Linked DNA regions of Homo sapiens: region 1 is linked to region 2. The links are contacts of gene promoters, found by promoter capture Hi-C in blood cells and fetal thymus (Javierre and others, 2016). All regions are on one chromosome and are shown on one strand. Each heading gives the region's core, a stretch centred on a gene start or on the middle of the fragment in contact. The rest is flanking DNA. Distances are from core to core; before and after follow the strand shown.

Region 1 (2,959 bases), core at 162-2,661, 550 kb before region 2:
GGAAAAAAAAAAAAAAAAGGATACATACTACTGCTCATTTGTTGAACATATTTTTTAAAAACTTATTTTCTCTCTCTTTTTTGCTTATTGAGAATTTTATATTTTTATTTTGTTTTTTTTTTTTTTGAGACAGAATCTTGCTCTGTTACCCTGGCTAGAATACACTAGTGTGACCCTAGCTTACTGAAACCTGAACTCCTGGGATTAAGTGATCCTCCTGCCTCAGCCTCCTGAGTAGCTAGGACTATAGGTGTGCGCCATCATGCTCAGCTAATTTTTTTCATTTTTTTTTAAAGCAGGGGTCTCACTATTTTGCCCAAGCTGGTCTTGAACTCCTGGGCTCAGGCAATACTGCCTCAACCTCCCAAAGTGCTAGGACTACAGGTGTGAGCCACTGTGCCCCACCAAGAGTTTATTTATTTTTTATTTAAAAAAATTTTTGAGACAGTGTCTTGCTCTGTCACCCAGGCTGGCATGCAGTGGTCTGATAATGGCTCACTGCAGCCTCGCCTTGACCTTCTAAGCCCAAGTGATCCTCCCACTTTAGCCTCCCAAGCAGCTGGGACCACAAGCGCATACCACCATGCCTGGCTAATTTTTTGTATTTTTTGTAGATACGGGGTTTTGTCATGTTGCCCAGACTGGTCTTGAACCTGGACTCCAGCGATCTGCCTGCCTTGACCTCCCAAACTGCTAGGCTTACAGGTGTGAGCCATTGCACCTGGCTGAAGAGTTTATTTTTTAATCTATCAAAACCAGGGAGTTACCTGTTTGTATGGTGAGTCCACATCAACATTTAACAGACAACAGTCACTGTGTTATTGAGTGGTGAATATAAAAGCTTCCTACTTATGTAGGCTCACATACATACAATGTCTCACTGACTACTTCTAAATTATCATTAGTATTTTCCAGAGAAAAGGAAGATTAAAAATTAAGTTATATTTATTTTGTTCTGAGTGCTGTTTTGGGGATGATTTCTTCTAAGTTTCCCACTCACTTTTCAAAACCTTTTGGGAAACTAATGCCCAAGAATACAGCTAATAAGTGACAAAGCTAGAAATGAGGTCAAGCCACAAAAACCATGCTTTTCCCATTAAACCATTCTGAAGCAAGCATAAGAAAAAACTGTCTTGAGTCTGTTTTCTTTTATTTTTAGAGACAGGATCTCTCTGGACTTGAACTGCTGGGCTCAAGCAATCCTCCCACCTCAGCCTCCCAAGTAGCTGGGACTACAGTGATTCTCTTTTCTAATATTATTTACTACATTTAACAACCATGCAACAGGAATCTTAACCAAGTCTCCAACTTGTTCATCCAATGTAATCCCAGGGTTTTAGTAGTATTGATAAAGTCTGATGACATCTTATTTTTGATGATGTGCTGGCATATAAATATTTATCAGTGAGCACTCACCATTCCCTAACGATCGAGTCTGTTCACAACTTCTCGAACTGTAGCTATGAAGTTTTCATTGTCTTGGGGATTAGCTAAAATAATACTGTGCAGTCTGTTCATATATGAGTCAATGGTGTCCACTGTAGGTGTCTCTCCACTTCCTGAAGTGAGATAAGAAGAAAGTAAGAAAATCCTCCCTATTCAGTTGTACCATAAAACACAATTTCAAAGAAACAGTGATTCTAATGTGGTCTGCTCCACAGACATGCTTTTAATTTTAGAGGAGAGACTTTTAGATCTCAAAGAAATGAAATTAGTCCACATACTCTAAATAAACAGATGGGCTATATAATTGCTGTATAGTATATATGAGCAGCTGCATGTAACAGAAGGTTAGACTCGCTCAGCTTTCTGCTATGACTATCTTCAAAATGAAAGAGTATATAAGAAATACCAGTGTTCATTCTCCCTTCCTTCCCGTTAAAACAAAAACAACTAAAAAGCAAACAAACATACATAAGAAGAAACACTCTCAAGATTTACTACTCAGTTTCCAGTGTTCTGAATAGCAAATTAAGCTTAAAAGAGGGGAAAATAGATATTAAAATATAAATGGACAAAAATTTGAATGACCAGAGAGCCTGAAACATTGGACGATTTTAGCCAATACTGACATTCTATTATATCCAGAGAAGAAAAAATGTAGTTTAATTAATTTTCCTCTGGAGGAGATTTCAATCTCTCCACACCAGTACTAACATAAACAGCACCCCACTCCACACAACACACACACCCCTGTCACTGACAGTTCTCAGGCAGGAGGACTTACCAGGCAAGGGCATGCTGGCAAAGCTGCTGGTCAGCACCTGCCGCAGGGTCTCCAGGTGCTGCTGTAAGACTGTGTTGCGGCTCCGCTCCTGGATCACATCCACCTCCAGCTTCTCCACTGCTGTGCGCATGCTCTCCACGTGCTTTTGCAGGGCTGCATTCCTCTCCTCAAACTCCATGTTGGATTTGCGAAGCTGGCGGAGCTCTGCTTCCCGAGCTGAGGACATACATCCCACAGAACACATGCAGCACTAGAAGGAGTCTCTGAGGAGTCCCAATGACTCTTACAGGGAAGTTCTGCTTAGCTGCCTCTAATTTAGCTACCCCACCTCATCTCCCTATTCTCATTATGGCATTCCAGATAGCAATTTCAGCAATGAAACGCCTGACTCCCCAGAGCTATTTTAATTCTTAAAGCTAGTCACATTCCATACATAAGATTGCAACAAACAGTTTCAATTCCCAGTATTTTTTTGTTTGTTAGTTTTTGCTTTTTAAATTGTACAATCAGAAGCCTGAGGGGTTTTGCAGGGGGATCCTGGGAGACTGGCCAAGCACAGCTGTAGGTACCCATCTTTACCACAATGGGATCAGACTTGCTCTTACTTATTTTATATTTTGGACTCCCATGTAAGTTTTTATTTGTGCAAGGGGTTCCAGGCTAAGAGTTTGAAGACAAGTGAATTTGTGATTTGCATTTATTTCCTTTCATCCAGAGACCAAAGAAGCTTTG
Region 2 (3,055 bases), core at 436-2,935:
TTATTGTCTAACTAAGTGGAAGAAAAAAGCCCTTAATCTTCCAGAGGGTTCCAATGTGAATATGTCATTGACAGCACATCTTAAATTTACCAGTTTTTAATTGTCTCCAGCAACTTAATTCCTTGATGGTGAACAGCATTTAAATGAGAGTTACAGAAAAACAGCTAACTTAAGAGTCACAATAACAACCTGAATTTTTCTGAGGACCCACTTGGAACGCTGACAGGGAACATCATTTGAATTGAACAATGGGGAGAGACAACTGCACAGCAATTTATTTAGAACATTCTTTTAATAGTCTGTGCATTTCATTTCTGACTAGAGAATTTACCTGAGAGCATCAGATTTTTTTTTTTAACTGAAGGATATTAAAACCTGAATTAAGAGCAGGATACCTGGATTCTAGTCCAGCTTTGCCACTTATTTGTAGAAGGCACTTATCCCTGTGCTTCATTTCTTCATCTCTACAAAGTGATGTGGACAAGATGATCCCAAGGCCCCTACCAGCTCTAACATTTTGGTATAATGTTATAATAAACGTAATTCACAGGCAACAGGTCTTTTTCTACTTGCTTAAAAAAAGAAGCAAATTCCTAAAATTTAAATGAAGCATATATCAAAAGAGCGATAAATCATTTACTGCCTTAAAGTTTTGGGGCATATTTCTCTAAAATAAATCATATTGTTGACACTAACAAAAGTCACGTGAGAAAGAGGGTGTCTCAAGGTGTGACTTCCACATAGAGTACAGGGTCAATGATGTTTATATATAACTGGAGAAAGCACCGAGTTTTACTTGGTTCTCAGTGTCTAAAGATTTGTAAGTATAAAGCCTATTCTCCATGTCCTTTTCTCCTTCTCACAGGACTTCCAACTTGGGACACTAGCAATCTATACATTCAGCAGACACCGCTGCTTAACATATTTGTGTTTGTCTCCATTGTTAGTCGTGTAGGGCAGTCCTTACTTTCAGTGAGAAAGCCATCTGAGTCCAAGTCGATTTTCTTTATGATCGCCTGCAGTCTTTTTTGCTGCTCTTCGTGGCCGAGTTTAACATATTCATCCACATCTTCCTTTAGGGGGAAGCGACACACAGGAGGGCCAAGCATTACTATCAGTGGGGCAAAATGGTGGAGAAAAACAGGGCTACTAGAAGACCCCCTTGCCAAAGGGTTTCGGGGTGACCCGCACCTGCACTTCAAGGCCCCTACCCCCTACACACCCTCCATGATCTGAGGGGTAGAAGGGATCCAGCTCTTGGGCCGTGCTATCTCCTCAGGCTTTCCAGGCCCCAGGACCCCCAGAGAGCGAGTGCCGCGCCGCCCGGCCCCCATTGTCAGGCCGCCCCTGCCAGGCCTCGCCCGGCCGCCCCCCTTTGTCCCGGGACAAAGCCCGCGGCAGCCGCGGTGCGAGGCCCGGCCCTCCCAGCACCGGCCTGGCCGCCTCACCTGGACGCCCAGCAGCGCCTCGCGGTCGTAGTCGCTGCGGCGCTCGCCCAGCGGGTAGTGCAGCTCCTCGGCCTTGCCGGCGCCGGCCGCGGCGGCGCACAGCAGCAGCAGCCCCAACGCCGCGGTCCTCGGGCCCAGCCGCATCGCGCCGGCCCGCGGAGGACACCGAGGGACGCGAGGAGGGAGGCTGGCGGGGGCCCGGGCCGGCTGCGATGCTCCGCGGGCGGCTACAGAGAGGCGGTGCGACGTACGTTGAGGGCGGAGGGAACGGGAGGCGGAACCTGCGGTGGCGGCCACAACGCCCATGGACGGGCTGGGGGCCGGTCCACCAATGCGGTGCGGAGGCGCGCCAGGAGGAGGCCTATATGGCCGGCGCGGAGTGGCGGGGCACCAGGCCGCGCCGCTGATTGGGCAGCGCGGCGCTGGGGGCGGGCCGCCGCGATGTCGGGGTCAGCGGCCGCCCAGAGAGCTCCAGGAGCCATGCTGGGACTGCAGAGAGGGTAGACCTCTACGACCCGCGCCTTGTCGTTCCCCCGAAACGCTTCTAAAAGCACGCCCCCACCCCACTCCTGCCCACTCCTGGTCCACTCCATGTGCCCCTCCTACCGTCCATCAATGAGAGAGGCTGGAGGTTTCTGAGACAACAATACAATATCGAAAAAATTATTGCCTGAGGAATCGGCCAACAGTATTCTTTCTCAGTCTTCAATGTATCTATTTTATGAGAGTAGGACGTACAAACTCAGGAAGTGCAGCCAGATGCTTGTATCTGATGCTCAATTTCGTGATTTACAAGTTAATGTGAACTTGCTCAAATTTCTTGACCCCTGAAAACTTGTTTGCTCATCTATAAAATGAGCATAGTAATAAGACTACCTTAAAGAATTGTCGTGAAGATTAAATAATGTAATGGGTTTAGAACAATAGCTGGCACATAAGGTGAAGTGTTCAGTGAAGGTAGGCTTTCATCCATACAAGTAGAAAAACGAAAGATGATTGCACAGAAGGAATAGCTTAGTAAGTACCTAGCAAAACCTTTAGGGACAGAATGCATATACACATGGCTTCTATTCCATGTCTATTCACAGGTTTATGTAATTTCTCCACCTCAACCTGAACACATTAAACTCTAAGAAATTTGTAGGCTGCACCTTGAACCCTTTTCTTTATTGATTGCGCCACTTAGGATCAGGCCTTTCACAGAGAAGAAAAGGCTTTCTGGGTCCTCTTTCATTTCTCTCAGTCTCTATTTGGATTGGGAGCAAGAATTCTGTTCCAAACTGCAAAACTGGGTGGGCACAAGTCGCAGAAATTTCCTGGGTCGGGTTGAAATTTATGGTTTGGTCACAAACCATTGAAAGATTCACAGAGCAAAGTGTAAGTTCAATCTTTCCAATGTTATAAAGATCAACGAAGAACAAAGTTTTAAATTTCAGAATATAAATAAAAGCAAATTTTAGAGTTGATTTCATTAAACTAAAAAGAAAACCCTTTATTGCTGGATTTTAATTTTCACTTCCATTCTCGGTTTTGAGGAAAAAAAGAGAAAAATGTCCCAATTTAATATAAGAAACTCTGCTTTGTACCTGTTGTTCTCCAATAAGTAA

The links. The method cuts DNA at HindIII sites, captures the fragments that hold promoters and counts their contacts. A CHiCAGO score of 5 or more calls a contact.
Region 1: a contact is called between a fragment that was not itself captured here and the fragment with the promoter of RCN2 in region 2, in 1 of 17 cell types (naive CD8 T cells). The highest score is 5.1, in naive CD8 T cells.

The regions. Positions count from the first base shown.
Region 1 is chr15:77,477,779-77,480,737 of GRCh38, reverse strand. HMG20A (high mobility group 20A) reads right to left here. Exons shown (of 10, transcript NM_001304504.2): 8 at 2,228-2,443; 9 at 1,417-1,559. The coding sequence ends at 1,423. Among named protein-coding and RNA genes, the nearest start is that of HMG20A, 58 kb to the right of the region's middle. The HindIII fragment of the contact is 1,135 bases long and covers 844-1,978 here.
Region 2 is chr15:76,930,379-76,933,433 of GRCh38, reverse strand. It overlaps RCN2 (reticulocalbin 2), which reads right to left and starts at 1,685. Exons shown (of 7, transcript NM_002902.3): 1 at 1,449-1,685; 2 at 968-1,073. The coding sequence starts at 1,592. RefSeq lists a silencer at 1,243-1,992. The HindIII fragment of the contact is 17,303 bases long and covers 1-3,055 here.